Linked DNA regions of Homo sapiens: regions 1, 3 and 4 are each linked to region 2. The links are contacts of gene promoters, found by promoter capture Hi-C in blood cells and fetal thymus (Javierre and others, 2016). All regions are on one chromosome and are shown on one strand. Each heading gives the region's core, a stretch centred on a gene start or on the middle of the fragment in contact. The rest is flanking DNA. Distances are from core to core; before and after follow the strand shown. Region 1 overlaps CBX4 (chromobox 4). Region 2 holds the start of ACTG1 (actin gamma 1). Region 3 holds the start of LOC124904071 (a long non-coding RNA gene). Region 4 overlaps CBX8 (chromobox 8).

Evidence for each region. The method cuts DNA at HindIII sites, captures the fragments that hold promoters and counts their contacts. A CHiCAGO score of 5 or more calls a contact.
Region 1: a contact is called between a fragment that was not itself captured here and the fragment with the promoter of ACTG1 in region 2, in 2 of 17 cell types (total B cells and naive B cells). The highest score is 5.5, in total B cells.
Region 3: a contact is called between a fragment that was not itself captured here and the fragment with the promoter of ACTG1 in region 2, in 2 of 17 cell types (naive B cells and total B cells). The highest score is 12.5, in naive B cells.
Region 4: a fragment that was not itself captured here is called in contact with the fragment with the promoter of ACTG1 in region 2 in 1 of 17 cell types (total B cells); the score reaches 7.8 in total B cells.

What each region holds. Positions count from the first base shown.
Region 1 is chr17:79,832,432-79,836,510 of GRCh38, forward strand. CBX4 (chromobox 4) reads right to left here. Exons shown (of 5, transcript NM_003655.3): 4 at 3,215-3,281; 5 at 725-2,964. The coding sequence ends at 1,528. Among named protein-coding and RNA genes, the nearest start is that of CBX4, 5.0 kb to the right of the region's middle. RefSeq lists enhancers at 1-264, 2,592-2,641, 3,557-4,079. The HindIII fragment of the contact is 4,097 bases long and covers 778-4,079 here.
Region 2 is chr17:81,511,549-81,515,577 of GRCh38, forward strand. ACTG1 (actin gamma 1) reads right to left here and starts at 1,251. Exons shown (of 6, transcript NM_001614.5): 1 at 1,186-1,251; 2 at 684-812; 3 at 355-594; 4 at 1-78. The coding sequence starts at 806. It also overlaps a transcript of FSCN2 not described here. RefSeq lists enhancers at 697-786, 1,997-2,276, 2,307-2,356, 3,499-4,029 and silencers at 1,007-1,176, 1,377-1,856, 2,487-2,676, 2,897-3,616, 3,687-3,736. The HindIII fragment of the contact is 3,930 bases long and covers 1-2,936 here.
Region 3 is chr17:79,807,203-79,811,581 of GRCh38, forward strand. LOC124904071 (a long non-coding RNA gene) reads left to right here and starts at 1,395. Exons shown (of 2, transcript XR_007065928.1): 1 at 1,395-1,784. RefSeq lists enhancers at 1,931-2,060, 3,935-4,379 and silencers at 2,870-2,949, 3,150-3,269, 4,370-4,379. The HindIII fragment of the contact is 1,094 bases long and covers 746-1,839 here.
Region 4 is chr17:79,788,771-79,792,842 of GRCh38, forward strand. It overlaps CBX8 (chromobox 8), which reads right to left. Exons shown (of 5, transcript NM_020649.3): 5 at 3,362-4,072. Among named protein-coding and RNA genes, the nearest start is that of CBX8, 6.3 kb to the right of the region's middle. RefSeq lists a silencer at 1,187-1,336 and an enhancer at 1,998-2,807. The HindIII fragment of the contact is 4,309 bases long and covers 1-3,442 here.

The sequences.
Region 1 (4,079 bases), core at 1,576-4,075, 1.7 Mb before region 2:
GTGAGGAGTCCCAGCTCTCCTCGCTAAGGAAGTGGGGGTGGCAGGCCTCGCTCCCCCGCCCTCCTCCCCGTCCCCATCCATCTCGCAGGAAGCCCCCCGCCCCCCACCCCGGCAGCGCTCGCCGCGCCTCTAGTGGGAGCCTCTGGCCTGGTGGTTTCCGGGGAGAGAGCCCGAAGAGCAAGGGCCTCGGCAGCTTCCTCAGTGGGGCAGGGCCGGCGATGCCAGCCAGGGACGCCGGAGAGGCTGGGGGTCCCCGCCCCGCGGAACCTGCCCTACCGGGCGCGATTATTAAGAAGGAACCTCCCTGCCCCGCCAGGGCTTGCGCCTGGGTGTGTTGAGCCCCAGGGGTGGAGGCTACGGGGGAGGAGAGCCAAAGGTCAGCCGCTGCCCAGTGGGTGCCGCGAGGGAGACTAGCCCCACCCGCGTGTCCGCGCCGCCCACCCCTGCACCCCCTCCTCCCCTACCCAGAACCCAGGGTTTGCCAGTGCCTTGGGCACCGCCGGCCGGAAAGCCCTGGGGGCGGGGACGGCTCCCACACCCACCCCCCCGCAGGAATTCCCCTTCCCAGCCGGGCGCCTCTCGACTTCCCAGGGAGCGGGGTCACCCTCCTGCGCCGGCGCCGCGGCCCGCAAAACCAGCCCACTTCGCTGGTGCAAAGGTTCAGCACAGGGCTCGAAGGCGGAGTTGGTGGCGAGAGGGGTCCGCTCATCTCAAACAGCGAAAATGCACCTTCAACATCTCCATTTAATATTTACATTCAAGCAGGTAATAGTTGGAAGCTTATAGTTTAGACATTTCTAGTAGCAGCAGTTTCTAGAGAGCTCGTGTAGCCTTTTAACAAACTTTTTTTTTTTTTTTTTTTTGCACATAGAAACAAGACATCCATGTGTACAGTATCAAAAAATATATACCAAGGTTACTGGTATTGCAGTTCGTGGAAGGGGAAGAGAGGGGAGAAAATGAAATCAACCGAAATACTGGATGGAGGGGAAGAAAGGTCAAAAGAAAATAGTTTGTCTGATATAGAATATAACATGATCTAGAGGAAACTCCATAAATCTAGGTTTTTATATTTCAATATATAAATACCTACAAATAAATATATATATAGCAGCCCGAAGGGGGGTGGTCGGGCCTTTTGAGCTCAAACAATACATTTCAATAATAACACCACGTACAAACGGGAGTAGAGTCAGCACTTGACAAGTTAGCACGGTTAAAATATAATACTAGAACTCTGAGGCCGGGCGCAGAGCTGCCCTGTCCGTTCCGGGGGTCCATCTCCAGCGGGGAAGGGCAGGAGAGGGCGAGCCCCGCCGGCACCGCGTGGAAGGGGCCTCCGCCCAGGTCTGACAGCCGCCGCAGGGGGAACATGGTTACCTCCGCTCCGGGCGTCCTCACCCTGGGGGCCAGCCTGGGTCTCTCGCGGTTGGCGGGTTGGCGAGAGGGGAGCCCGCCCCGAGGCCCCAGGTGCTCAGCTCCCCGCCCCCCCGCGGGAATGGCGCTTCCCCTTCCGACGCCCTCCGGCTACACCGTCACGTACTCCTTGAAAGTAACGGTGAGGCAGTTCGCGGTGACGTCGGTGATAATTATATTCCCAAAGAAGGGCTTGAACTCGCTCAGCGACTCTGCAGGTTCGTCCTGGGCCTCGGCTGGAGGCTTCTCCGCCGTCGTGGTGGGTGCCGCTGCCGCCGCCACCGCCACCGCCGCCGACGCCGGTGTCTCGGGCTTCACCTGGAGGGAGCTGGGCGGCTCCCCGGCCTCGCTGCGCGTCTTGACGCAGCGCAAGTCTATGGGTTCATCCAGGTCTGAGTCTAGCAGGATGACCTCGGGCTGCGGGAGGGCGGCGGCTGGTGGCAGGTCGGCCGGGCGCTCAGCGGCTGGGCTGCCCCCCAGGCAGGTGGGGGTGCTGATGCTGCGCGCAGTCAGCCGCTTCTTGCAGGGCTCGCGCTCGCCGTGGGTCTCGGAGAGGCAGCGCTTGCGCACGTGGGAGAGATTCAGGCCGACGGCGTGGTGGTGGTGGTGGTGGTGGTGGTGGTGGTGATGGGGGTGCGGGTGCGGGTGGTGTGAGGGCGGGTGCGTGTTCCGGGCCGGGTCCCAGGCAAGCAGGTCGGGCTTGGTGGTGAGCTGCAGGGGCTGCTCTCCAAAGGCCTCCTTGGTCGGGGACAGCTTGCGGGAGCCGGCATCCTGGGGCTGCGGATCGCTAACCCCGGACACCTCCTCCTCCCTCCTCTTGGGCGGCGCCTCCACCTTCTTCTCCTCTGCGCCCGCCGCCTTTTTAAAAGTCCTGTCGGCAGGAGGGTGGCGCTCGTCGGCTGCCCGCTTCTTGTGGCTGGGGGAGCGAGCCTCCCCCTCTGCCACCTCGCCGGACTTGATCTTCACCGCCTGCATGCCGTTCTCCATGTATTTGCTCATCACGATCACGATGCGTCCGTTCTTGTTCTTGTTCTTGACTATCTTCATCTTGCCCCCAATCCCGTTGCCCGTCACAGCCTCTTTGGGGGCCGGCATCATTCCGTTGGGGGGGCCCTTCTCGGAGCCTTTGCCTGGAGCACCCGCCGCACCGGCCAGGGGCTTCACCGCCCCCAGGTAGCCTTTGGCCCCCGCACCTTGCGCCCACTTGTCGGGCGGGTGGCTCTTGGCCCCCAGGTCCGGGCAGGTGGGGCTGGGCGCCTCCTTGTGGCCGCCCTGGTACTGCAGGTCGTACATTTTGGGGTCGGGCTGGTAGGGGTGGTGCTTCTTGCTGTTGAGCTGGTAGTAGTACTTGCCGCTCTTGCCCGGCGGCGGGGGCTTGCCCGCCCGCTCCTTGCTGTGCGGCTGGTACTGGTGGTGCTTCTTGCTGTTGAGCTCGTACTGATGCCCCTGGCCCTTCCCCTGCGCGCCCAAATCCAGCTTGGCACGGTTGTCAGTGGAGGAGTCCTGGAGGCCGGTCAGGACATTGGAACGACGGGCAAAGGTAGGCACCTGAGGGAACGGGTGCAGGGGTGAGAGGAGGGAGGAGACAGCCCCACCGCATGCCGGGAGTTTCTGGAGCGTCCCAGCCCCCACCAGGTCCGCAGCTGCCTCATGGGGGGCAGGAGGTGGGAGGTCTAGTAGAAAGGGAACAGGGTCAGGGTGCTGGGAGGAACCACCACCACCCCCCCCATCCCCAGGCCTGGAGGCAGCTCTGGTGGCCATGTCAAGGGGGTGCCCAGGGGCGGCCGTGTGTATTCACCTGCACCACTAGCGGTTTGGGCTTCGGCCCTCTCTTCCGATATCCCATCAGCTGCTCCTGCCGTTCCCTGGGTGGGAGGGAACAGAGGGCAGTGCTGTTAGCCTCAGGGTCGCCCCCTACCCGCTAATTCCGGAATCTTCTGTGATGCCCCCCCCCCCGCTTCAGAGAGCATCAGGTAGGGCTGGCCGGACACAGGAATCAAGAGTTCAGGGCAGGTCAGGCCTCTGCGCCCTTAACCCTCACACCAACCCTCCTCTGCCCAAGAGGTCCTGGGCAAAGGGCTCCCCCACTTTGATGCCCACACCCGAACCAGCACCCCCCCAAGCCCCACCTCTGTGCTCAGGAGGCAGAAGCTCAGGGCTGCACCTCTGGCCCTCCTGCCCACGGCCTTGGGCCTGTGGCTCTGTGCGAAGCAAAGTGGACACGGGGATCCAGGGAAGACAAACCAGCCCAAGCGAGGTGTGCGCCGACCTCATCCCTCCCGTCAGAAGCGCGGGATGCTAATGACCTCATTAAGATTCCGATAACGAGTGCCTCCGGCAGAAGGGAGGGCCCTTTCTTAAAGGCCAGGCACTAAACAGGGGGAGGGGCTGCGCCCTTGTTTACACAGCGGCAAATGAGCCAATTAGGGGCTGGGGGCGGGGGCGGGCCACCAAGGCCAGGGTGTGGCCAGGTTTGTGGCCACCTGGTGAACGCTGCGCTCCTCCCAGCTGAGCAGGTGGGCGTGGCCGGAGCAGCTTAGAGAAGCACCGCCTCCTCCTCGGAGTCTGGCTCCTGGCTGCCTCAATTTCCAAATAATGAATAAAGCCCATGGGCGGAGGCACCGGTCACTACAGCCACCAGGCTCCTGCCTGCAGGCCAGCCT
Region 2 (4,029 bases), core at 1-2,500:
GCGCCCAGAGGCGTAGAGGGACAGCACGGCCTGGATGGCCACGTACATGGCCGGGGTGTTGAAGGTCTCAAACATAATCTGAGAAGGGACAAGGGGCGGCTTAGTCAGGGACAGAGACCCACGGCCACCCCATGCTCACACGCCACAACATGCTGCATGCCAGTGTGATGTGTGGAGAAAAGAAAAGAACGCAGGCAGAAACCAAATGAGAAACCTGGAGGCTTCAGGGAGGAAATGCCGGGAGAGGAACAGAGCCTGGAACAGCGAAAGAAACACTTAAATGTCAGAAATCAAGCCGGGCAGAAAATGACTGGGGAAAGGACGGGAGGAGCACGGGCGTCGGCCGAGCCTCACCTGAGTCATCTTCTCTCTGTTGGCCTTGGGGTTCAGGGGGGCCTCGGTCAGCAGCACTGGGTGCTCCTCCGGGGCCACGCGCAGCTCGTTGTAGAAGGTGTGGTGCCAGATCTTCTCCATGTCGTCCCAGTTGGTGACGATGCCATGCTCAATGGGGTACTTCAGGGTCAGGATGCCACGCTTGCTCTGGGCCTCGTCGCCCACGTAGGAGTCCTTCTGGCCCATGCCCACCATGACGCCCTGCAGGGGACGACCCGTCAGCCTCGCCGGCGACACCGAACCCACCCCGCAACGCAGAACCCAGGAGCCCCGCGGCGCCATCCACTCACCTGGTGTCTGGGGCGCCCGACGATGGAAGGAAACACGGCTCGGGGAGCGTCGTCCCCAGCAAAACCAGCTTTGCACATGCCGGAGCCATTGTCAATGACCAGCGCGGCGATCTCTTCTTCCATTGCGACCTGCCCGGAAAAGGATGGACTCAGGCGGGCGCGTCTGTAACACGGTCCCCTCCCCACAGCCACCTAATGCCCTCCCGCGGGGAAGCCTCGGCCCTGCCCCAACCCCAGCGGCCGTGGCCTCCAAGATCGCAACCGCCTGGAACCGAAGGCCGGGCCTTTTACGTAACGTCCACGGCTCGGAAGTCTGCACTGCGGCCGGGCCCCGCCCTGGACCCCCGGCGCCCCCCCAGCCCCGTCCGCCTGACCCGGCCCACCCCGCCTTTTGTTCCCGGGGAAGGCGCGACGAGGCCTCGGCAGCTGGAAGCGGGGCCAGCCGGGGTCGGGGGGCGCAGGCCTGCGACGTCCAGCTCAGGCCCCGGGGCGGGGCGCTCACCGGCAGAGAAACGCGACGGCGGAGCGGCGGAAGAACAGAGTGCGAGAGCTGGCAGCGGCGACTGAGACCGACCGCGGCCTCCCCCGCCGTTATTTAAGCGGAAGCGGCGCGCCCGCGCGGCCCGGCGGCGCGCGCGGCCCCAGAACATGTCCATATATGGCGATCTTTCCGAAAGCCGGGCACCCATTGGCCCGCCGGGCAGGGACACGTGGGGCCCCGGCCCGCCCCGCCCCCAGCCCGCACCGCCTCCCAACGGCCCCGCCCGCGCCACCCCCGCGCGCTCGCGACCCTGCGCGGGCCGGCGGGCGGGTCTGAGTTGGGGCGCCCTCCGAGGGTCGCCGGGAGGGCCGAAGGGCTGACGGGCCTGGCCCCTCCCCGGGACTGCCGCGCCGTGGGGAGGGCCCTGCTGCGCCCCGAAACTGCCTGACCCGGGGCGGGGCCGCGCCGGAGCTGGGGTGGGTCCCCGAGTCCCCGGCCACGCTGCGGGGCTTTGCTCCCTGGGACGTCCCTTGCAATCTTTCCCCTCGGGCTCCACGAGGATCTCGGGCGCCAGTGCCGGGCTGAGGAAGGGGCGCGGCGGGGGTCCGCGACGCTCTGCGTCCCTGGGCGCGGGGGAGCTCTCAGGAGCCCTCACCTCGCCCCGGTCACCATAGGAAACAGCCCGCCCGTCCCCAAGCGCAGCCACCACCATGCAGGTCCCTCCACGGGGCGCCCTGCCCCGGATCTCCGTTCGTTTGAAGACCGAGGCCCCTTTCTACCCGACCCGACACATCCCTGCCCCTCAAATCACAGGCCTGATTGTCCCCAGGCGCGCGCTCCGGGTTGGGGCTACCCCGCCCCCTTATGTGCTGAGAAGGTGGTGTGGAGTGAGGCCTTTGTTTCATTCTGGTCACCTGTAGACATTATAGGGAAACTGAGGTAGACAATGGGAGCCCTGACTTTTTTGAAGGTCGGCTCCCCAGCTTCGGGCGGTCGGGGGGATACCCTCTTCTGTTTACGATGCTAGTTAAGAGCAGCGATCAGGGCTGGCGTGGGTTTAGCCACAGGCTTGTCCAGGGCGCTCACTCCTCGCCAGGAGCGGCGCCGGTGCTTTGGTTACACCCCGAGAGGCGCCCGGCACTACGGTTTCCTTGTGCGCTGCTGGAATTTTCAGGGTTGGAGCGCCGGCCGCGTAGGGGTGGCAGTGAGGCCGCGCAGTGAGGGGACGGACTCGCCCGAGGTCGCAGAGCGTTCAGATTGACTCGACAGGCTGGGGGGCGGGGCCGGGGTCCCCACGCGGAGTCCGGGGCCCTGCAACGTTAGCTCGCGACCCCGTGTTTGGGAGTGACAACAGCGAGTCAGGGCAAGGCGGCCGGCCCAGCTCACCTGCGGGCTGCAGTCAGCCCGGACGCCGAGACCCGTGCCTAAGGCCCCCGTGCCCCAGGCCTCCCAGGGGTGCTGAGCGCCCCCAGGCCCAGAATCTCCGGGGGCCCGGGCAAGGCTGTCAGGTATGTTCCCTCCCGTGGCGAAGCCGGGGCTGGGCCTCCAACAGACCCACCCGGACTCGCGTCCCTGGGCAGAACCACACAGCCTGCTCGACCCCCGGGTGAGGACTTCCACTTGGGGGGTCCCAAGATGCGACGTCACACACCGAGGGACACGAGGCGGGTGGGGAATAGCCACAAGCCCCTCCATCCTGCGTTCACCCCACACTACGTTCTGCTCCGGGCCGGCCGGGGACCCTGCCCCTCCGGGTCTCTGGTCTCCTCCGAAGCTTCTTTGTCTAGGAAGTGCGGGGAGGTGCCGGCCCCGGGCGCGCGTCCCCGTCCCCCACCTTTCTTCCCCACGTTGCGGACCCGAGGCCGCCAGGGTCGTGGGGGCGGGGGCGAGGCTGGCGCCTCGAGACCCCCGGGTTCCCCGCCACCCGCAGGGCCTGAGCCGCGGGGAGGGGCGGGGAGGGGACGCCGCCGCGGGCCGGGGGTGGAGAGCGACTTCCTCCTCCGCGGCCGCGTCACGCGGCAGGGGTCAAGGTGTGGCCCAGGTACGCGGCGGGGGGCGGTGGCGCGGCCATATTTGGCGACTTCGGCGCCGCCGGAGCCCCGCCCGCCTCCGCCGGGAAGCCCGGCCCGGGGCAGCGCCATCCCCGCCCGCCGCCGGGCCTGAGTCACGGCGGGCGGGGGGCGGAAGTAACGGACGGGGGGCGCCCGCCCGGCGCTCCTGGCCTTATTTAGTCAAGGAGGCCGCCGATTGGCGCGCGGGACAGAGGGGCGGCGGCCGGGCAGCCTCGGGGCGTAGGAGTGGCCCGGCGCCTCCGAGGGGTCGGGGCGGGAGCCGGGCGTGGGGGGCCTCGGAGCCTGGGGAGTCCCGGGACCGACGGCGGCGGGGATGCGGGTCTGCCTGTCCCTGGGATGCGGGCGGGCGGGCAGGGCGAGGCCTGGAGCCCGCGGGGCGCAGGGGGCTGGACCGCGCGCTGTGATTTTTCTGTTTAGCAGCGGGGCCTCGCCCAAGGTCGCGCGGGGCCTGTCCTGGATATGCTCTGGGAAGCCAGTGGCGCAGGGCAGCCGCCACCCTTCTGGAACCAGTGCCGGAGAGGGCCGGGCAGCTGGGCCTGGGGAGGGGACCGCATGGATGGAGCTGGGGGTAGCTGGGCGGCCTCCGGAGCCGGGAGAGTCGGCAGCTGCACTTCCGCCAGAGGTGGGTGTGTCCTTCACATTTCAGGAAGGGAGACTTGGGGCCTGGAGAAGCGATGTGATTTTTCTTTTCTAGTTCAGTGCTGGTTTTGATGGCTTTTTATCATGACCTTGTTATGTCTTATTTTAGTTTCGGCCCATTTAGTGGATACGACAACAGTGGCCCAGGGAGGTA
Region 3 (4,379 bases), core at 43-2,542, 1.7 Mb before region 2:
GGGCCAGTTCTTTCCCATTTTGTTGCTATGACAGGCATCTGTAATGGACCCACAGGATCCCAGGAAAGCAGGACTCCATACTACACACACACACACACACACACACACACACACACTTGCTGTTTTTCCAAGATGAGAAAGGAGTCCTAGGCTCGGTTTCTTCCGCAGCTTCTGTGGGTTCACGCATCCCCTTCCCTGGAAGGAAAGTTTCTGGGGCTGTCTACATGGCAGTTCCAAGGATGCCCTGGGAAGTGGTGTGTGAAGGGTTGCAGGGCCCTGGATTGTCACAGGGGGCAGGGCAGGGCAGAGGGTGGAGCTAGGCAGGACTGGAAGAAAGTGTGCAAGGGCAGGAAGGGGGTTGGATCTGATACCCACCAACCACTCATCACGGCATCTGCGAGGGAGTGCTGGGAATACCTGTTTCTACAGTGGCTCAAATGGACATGATGTGTTATGGTGTTTGTATCCCATTGGTATCTAGCCTGGCACAAGAGGGTGTACCAGAGTGCTGGGAGTGGACAGATGTAGCCACCATCCGCTGAGTGAGGGCTGCTCTGAGCCAGGCTTTGTGCTGGAGGTTTACGGGACTCTGCTTCTATTCCTCATCACAACCCTTAGAGGGAGGCTCCATTTAAAGATGAAGACACAGGCTCAGAGGGTTAAGTAACTTGTTAATGACCAAGTTAAGTCACAGGACAGAGCTCAACCTAAATCTGTCACCCAAGAGTTGAGGAGCCTAAGGGGAAGCTTCAGGGTAGCTCTTGCTGGTGTGGAACCAGGCACCTAGGGGAGCCGGGCATGGCTGTGCTGCGCTAGGGTTTGGAGCTTGGCATGAAGAGCAGCCTGTGGCAATGTCACTGGCTATGGCCAATCCCAGCCTTTGGCGGGACCAGGAGCTTAGCAGCCTGAGACCAGAGACCCACTGGCTTTTCCAGCCTCTGTCCAGCTGCTCAGGGAGTAGGACTGGCTGAGATCAATGGTAGTCAGTTTCAAGTCCCCATGCTAGGGCTCCTGGGTTCCAGGATTGACAAGCCACATTGACACAGAAGCCCATGCCTGGGCTGCTGCTGAGATGCACCTGCATAATGCATAAAACAGTGGATTGGGAATGAAATCCAGGCTTGCTCTGCCCCTGGCTAACTGGGTTACCTTGGACAAGTCTCTCTCTTTCTCCCTGCAAAACCAGCATTCGGAGCAGGCAGCCTTGGGGCCGCCAGTCTGGTCTCCATGTTCGACACCTCGAGATCATTCGTGTAGGCATATGAGGGTTTTCCTGAACCTTTTGGAAATACTTGTTGACTGTTGAGTGCTGACCACTGATGCACATGCCCAGGGCAGTACACAGAACCCTGGAGTTTGTGCCTGCCCAAGAAGCTAGGGACTCCTAGTAGGAGTGGCAGATTCCTGTCCCAGATACACCGGGTACTGGCCACCATTTTCCCAATGATGCCAGGCCCAGAGCTACCAAATACCTACTAGGAGACACAGGGTGGCAAGAGGAGGACTCCAGGGGAAGGCCTGTGTGACTAGGCTACCATTCCAGGCTCAACTCTGGCGAGGAACAATCTAAGGTGTGCTCCTCCCTCCAGCCCCACACTGCTGGCAGCAAGGCTGCAGCTCAGACTAATTCCAGGTACATTCTATAGGTGGCATCATGCTACTGGAAATGGCCTCCTTGGAGAAAGAGGCTCTCTTGTCAGCATCTCCAGGCACTGGCGAGCCGAGGCAAGGTTGACACAATCACAGTCTAAACTGCGCGGAGAAGGACACCTGAGGGGCGATGGGTATGTGCTGAGGGACAGTCCTCTCCATATTAGGGGCCACTGCTCCAGGTGCATAAGCTTCTTCCGTGCCATCCACCGGTGAGGCCTTGGGGCCTGTGGGTGTCGGGGGTCTCTCCTGCCTTCTGCCACCCGTGGGAGGTAAAGGCCTCACTGTGCACCTGGTGGGGGTGCTAGGCGGGCTACCACTAGGTCTACAACAGCATACACCTGCACCAAGTCGCCTTGCCACCAGGCTGCGTGAGAGAACTGGGTCAGTGCACCACGTGTCCTAGCCAGAGAGGCCCCTCCACACTCCCTGGACATCCTGGGGCCACTTTCACCGTCCAGACCCTTGCAGGGGCAGCTCAGACTCCTCTTCCGTGGGCAAACAGACCAGCCAGAAGTGGGGAGAGGGAAAGCAAGTGGGGCGTCCTGTTCGAGACGGACACTGAGGTCACCAGCACAGGCAGGCGTCAATCTGACCAAGGAGACCAGGATCTCAGGAGGCTTCACCCAGGACCCACCGCCCCTCTGGCAGAGAATCCCTGAGATGACTCCTTCCTTGCCCAGATCCGGCCCTGATGGCTTCAATCTTCCGAGCTGGGGGGCCTGTCCCCTATCCCCCCAGCCTCTTGCAGCCTGCCGTCAGGAGCAGGGCTGGCACAGCGACAGAGAAGAAAGGTGTGACAGCGACACCTCTCACCTCTCCCTTCCACCACCTGGCTGGCTCCAGGCCGCCCGCGCCTCCAGGGCACAGAGCCAGTGGGTCCTCGTGGCCACTGTTCCCGGCCTCCTGGCGCTGAGGCTCCACGCAGCACTCTACCGGCGCCTCCCCCCGGCCCCCGCCCCCCGCCCAGACCCTAGGGCTTTTCCCCTTCTCTCCCCCAGGCGTTCTGCTTGGTTTGCCGGGATCCCAGGCGTCTGCTCAAACTCAACACGGACTGGCTCACATTTTTTTAAACAAAAGCAATTAGATTTCAATCCCGGTTCATCTGCATTTGCACCTCCAAATGGGGGGGCAGGGGGAGAGGGAAAGGATGGGGAGCGCGGCGGCGGCGAGTGGCACCTTCCGAGCGCTGCAGCTGGCCGGGCAGCCATTGCGCCGGCCACATCTGGCCCGGGCTGAACGGCCGCCGCGGCCCCCTCCCCGCCGGCTCCCGGGGCCCGCGCGCCGCAGCCCGCTCGGCGGCGCGCTCATCGATCGCCGGGGCCGCGGCCGGGCGAGCGGAGAACAAGGTATAGCCTGTATTTAGGTTCCTGCCCTTATATGGCGATGTGCGCGAGCGCCCGCCGAGCGGCCGCACCATATAAGGGCACGCGGCGGGCGCCGGGCTGAGCTGGTGCGCGCTCATTGGCCCGCGCGTCTCTCGGCAACCGGCTCTCACGAGTGGAAACCAGCCAGCCGCCCCCGCCCGCTCCCCGCCCCCTCCCTTTCTTTCTCCCCGGGTATCTCCGCTCCTCGCCTCCGCACCCCCTTCGTTGCTTAACCCCCCTTTTTGCCTGTACCCTCTCCCCAATTTTTCTTCCCGCGGCCTTCCTCCTCCCTTTGCCTCGTTGTCATTCTTCTCCCGTGGCCGCTTGGCCTGTCCTCTCCCGCTCCGCGCACGCTCCCACTCCCACCCCACGCACCCCCTCCCCAAACCCGGCGAGCAACGGCGGAGGAGCGGGAAGGCCCGGATGCGGGAGGGGAGCTTGTGTGCGTGTGTGTCTGTGCGTGTGTGTGTGTGTGCGTGTGTGTGTGTGTGTGTGAGAGTGTGTCGCTGCCGCAGTAGCCGCTGCAGCATCAGGTTCACTGCGTGCACGCACGGGGCTCTGGGAACAGTCCGAGACCGCCCCCCCCCACCCCCCTCCGCCACCTCCCCCCTAGATAATCAGAGCAATTAGCTGCAAAAGAAATGTGCTTCCGAGGCTAGGGAAGTGCTAAATCATAAACAGCCCTAGATACCTCCAAATTAGCATCTCCCAGGGTGTCCCTTCGGGCTGGATTTCTGAATGCAATCATAATAATGGTAAATCGATGTCTCATTTAAAGGTTACTTTAAAAACCTGCCAATTGTTGAGGAAAAAAAAACCCCTGCGTGCGGGGAGAAAAATGCACTAGGAGAACCACTCTGGGGTTTCCAGGCAGAATGCAGTGGAGCGGTGGCTGCGGGTTGTTGGTCAGGTGCCCAGCGCCGGGCCCACCCGCGGGATGGGAGCGGGCGAAGAGAGAAGGCGTAGCTATTCCTCTGGGGATAAGGCTCTCGATCGCCTCAAACTCAGGCAGAAAGGGCACTGCGGATTCGGGGGCGCCCCTCGCCCCCTCCCCAACCCGCCGAGGCGCGCGCACGCGCACGCATGCACAGGTGTCCGGCTGACCCCTCTGGGGCTGTCACGGTTCCGGCGCGCGTGTTCTGGCGACGCCGTGGGGGCCAGAGCCATCCTCTCGGGGACCCACTCCTGTCCTGAGTTCACCCAAAGGGAACCGCTAAGACAATGGACACCCTAGTGCCCTTAGGGACTGTGCCTGTGACCGAGCTCGCCTCTAGGGCTGCCGCCTGCGGGAGGCGCCCGGCGATGCCCCCTGCTGGGCAGCCTGCGCCTGGAACACCGCGCAGGTGGGGGTCGCGTGGGAGG
Region 4 (4,072 bases), core at 38-2,537, 1.7 Mb before region 2:
CACGTCAGTAGTGCTGAGTTTGAGAGACTGAATTAATGGGAAAAACAGAAAAAACACAATGGCAGGGGTTGGGGGCAGGGGCGGCATTATCGGCATCTGTCAGGTGAGGTCAGGGATGCTGCAATATATAATCAACTCATTTTGAGACTGCTCCCTTCAAAAGACATGCAAAGTTAAAATAAAACTCCCTCTCCCCGCGCCCACAGTATCCAGAGATGCTGTGTTGGAAAGCCACTCAACCCCTTGAAGCCACCACATGTGCTAATAATGCTTTACAAGGAGGCAGCCATAAAATTCCAGGGGAGTCACTGTGAGTTAGCAGCTACTGCAACTCCTAACCCAAAGCTCGCGAATAAAGAGGCGATTTGCTTATTACAGAACCTTCCCCGGCTCCTTAAGGCTTCCACCAACTTCAGCATGAATTTATTCATGAATTCCAGCCTCCAGGGAGAATAGAGCTTCTTTGAAGTGAAGAGAGAAGCTGGGCCTAGATGTTGGAGTAACTGGGTGAAAAGCTACTTGGGGCCAAGGCCTGAATGTTTTGGTTCAGGAAAGGGTTCCCCCTGCAAATGGAAATGTGACCCCCAGCACTAGCCCGCTCCAGGAAGTCCTGCGAATTCGAAATCGACTGTTGCAGAGAAAGAAGACTGCTGGTGGGCTCTCTTTTGCTGCCTTCGCAAGGCTCTGGCTGTTTCCTTTTGGAGAAAGTGGGCAAGGGCGACCCCAGCGGGCCTGTCCTCTGGCTTATGAGAGCTGCAGAAAGGGGCTGGGACCGCCAGGAAGGAGCAAGCTGGCCGAGCAGGAGCAGGCGCGGCCCCGGATGTGGAGCCAGGCTTTCGGGAGAGCCCATTTCTACAGGGATTCGGCCCGACGGGTGCCGGGCCGAGCTCGCTCGGCCTTTGTTAGTTTCGGCGCCGCTGATGTGATCGCCTAATCCAGTGGACCCTGAGAAGAACAGACTGGGCTGCCAATGGCCCGACCCCACGCCGCCGCGACCTGCCCGAGGGCACCGGGAGCGATGGGTGCGGAGGGGCTGGGAGGACGGTCATCCGGGCGGCTGGACCTCTCCTTCCTCCCCTCCGCCTTCGTGGCTCGAGCGCCGGGCCTCAGGGAGGACGCAGAGGGGGCGCCCGTGGCGGTGGGCGCCCAGCGGTACCTTTGGGTCGGGGGGAGGTAAGGCTTTCTCAGCTCGGGTTCGGAACCAGAAAGCCACCGGCCCCCCGGGGGTAAGGGGTGGGCGCCGGCGACCCGGGCCGACGCCGCCACCTGCAGAGGGCGCGCGCGTCCCACCAAGGTCGGCCGCCGGCCCTTCGGACGGACGAGGGAAAAGCCAGCCGCGGCTCCAGGGTGCCCGAGACTCAATCGCACCACCTGCACCCCGGCCACCTCCGCCTCCGAAGTCTCAGGAGGAAAGCCCCGACCCAGCCCGCAGCCTCTCTCGCCGCGTTCAGGACCCGAGGCTGCGGGCAGCCGCCTTCCACGACGGACAGCACGGAGTCCCGCCGGGCCCCGAGCCACGCCAGTCTCGGACTTCAGCTGGGTCCGAGGCTCCTCTGGGCCTGGAGGGCTTTTAGAGGAGAAGAGGAAACCAGCACAGGAGCCCCAGAGGGCCGGGACAGGTCTGTGCGCCAGCGGCCCGGGCGCATGGCACAGTGCCTGGATCAGGATTGGTGCGAAGCCAGCATCAAACGGACAGAAAATGAATCCGATCCGACACTCTAGGAAGAGCATGAACCTTCCAATCCAACCAATGTTTGTGCGAGGCCAGGTTCCCCGCCGCGGTGGCCACACAAGCCAGCCCTGTCCTCGGGACGCAAGGTAACCAGTCCGGCTGGAGGCCGCCACGCACGCCTGGTCTCTGCAGTTGTGGCGGATTCCCAGGGACTCTGCCCAGGAAATGGAAACCCGTGAGGGCGCTCCTCAAAGCCGAGGGTGGTGATGGCCAGCGAACCCGAAAAAGGGGCAGGGTGGGCGCCCTCCCATCCGCTTAAGCAGTAGCCCATTCCACTGCCCCACACGCCCAGGAGTGGACGCAGGAGGGAGCCCCGTCCGAGTGGACGCAGGAGGGAGCCCCGTCCAAGTGGCGACCATCGCGGGGCCACCCCACCCACCTTCCCTTGACGTCCCCTGCCAGCACAGAGACCGCCCGTTGCGGTGGGGCAGTCTCGGGCGGAGATCTTTGACGCCTGGCGGCCAGCGACCCTACTCGGCCGGCAGCGCAGGCCCTCACGTCGGAAGGACACTCAAGGCTCTGTGACCCGCTAACCTGGGCCTGGGCAGCAGGACGCTGCTGTCCTCCCGCGCCCTCCCACACCGGTCACAGCTGGGGAAGGGGGAAGCTCTGCCAAGGGCCGGGCCACTGACTCCTCAGCAAGGGGCTGGAGATGCGTGAGCTACCCCTGTCCATGTTCCTCCTGGTGGGCGTTAGGGGTGAGCCTGAATCGTGGCTTCCTGGCAGGGTGACGTCTGCGGGGCACTACGGAAGTAGAAATGGGTTTAGTGCGGTGGCCTCTTTGGGGATCCGAAGAGTGGCTCTCCTGTGCGGGCTTCAAGACCCCGCCCCCACTGCTGTGAAGTCTGCGGCCAGAAAAGGCCAAGAACATCTCTCTCTCCACCCCCCACCCCGCACTCTGCTCTCCCGCACCGTCCCTTGCCCAGCGCTGGGGTTTAGGCCCGCCCAGGAGACCTGGGCCGGAGAGGCTGCGGGGACTCGGGGGCGGGGGTGCGCGGGGCTGCGGCGCGGCGGCTCCAGGTTCACTAATCACATCAGCAGCGCTCTGCGCCGGCTCCGAGCTTGCAGTTGCCTAGCAATACCCGCGAATTCAATTCCTCAATCAATAGGCGCGAGGCTCTGCATTTAGGGGAGCGCTAGCAAGGTTGGGTGGGTCTGGGGAGTGGGTCTCAAGACAGCTACGAGGGGCTGGCACCGGGAGGCTTTGGCTAACGCGGCGAGGCCCCGGGGCCTCGGAGACCAGACGCCTCCGGCCTGGGGGTGTGGCGCGCTGGAGGATCCCGCCAGAGGAAAGTGGAACCCCCGACCTCAGGCGCATCCTCCCGGGATCCCCAGATTCTGCCCGGGGCCCGAAGAAGTGCAGCCAGTAGGTGCGGAGAGCCACGGATTCCCCCGGACGGGCTGAGGGGAGTCTGCCCCAGCGGCCTCCCACGCCCACCTCTATCCCAGCCAGGTGGGTTCCCCAGTTGGGGAAGGGCCTTTGCAGGAACGGTGCCCCCGCGATGGGGGCGAGGATGGGGGCGGGAGGACGGGATGAGTACTGAGAGAAGAGGGACGGATCCTCTCCTCCCGGGATGCCTCTTCCCTTTGCTCAGGGAAGGAAAAAGAAGAATAAAACCAAGACATGTCTCTATTTACAAAGTATATATTTAAACACGTAAAAAGCGGTATTGGATACAGACATTCACGACCGCAGAAGATAGGTACCGAAGCTTCACTCTTGAGCTGAGGCGGAGATCGATTGGAGATTTGTACAAATCTTAGAATTAAATAAACCCAACAGCGCACACACCCTGCGCGGTTGCAGACTCCCAGCCACGTGGCCCCCGGCCCCTGCCCACCCACCCCCCAGGTCAGCGTCGCAAGAGCGAGAGAAGGAGACACATACACACACGGCCACGGACAAACAGCAGGACGGAGGGGCGGCAGGGACAGAGCTGGCTGGAAAGAAGGTCCAAGGGAAGGGGCAAAGTCAGCCCCCAGGAAGGGAGGGAGGTGGGAGTAAAGGACAGGCGGGAGAGAAGGGAAGGCGGCGGCCAGGTGAAGACGCGTATCCCCCAGTCCCGTCCACTAGGTAACAGACATGCCCCTTCAGTGAAGTTTCATCTGAAAATAGCATCGACATTTAAATAGATACACTCGGTCAACGGCGCTTCTTTATACAAAGTCTAAAATACCAGTTTTACAAATGTGAGTAGATAAAAATCCCCATTCCAGGGGCTTCTCTTTATAGGCGCAATTTGATATTCAAAAACAAACACAATCATGTAGTACACCGTTTCCCTCCTTTTCTCTCTTTAAAGGCAAGAAAGTCTGGAGGAGAGGCTGAGAAGCCGGGAG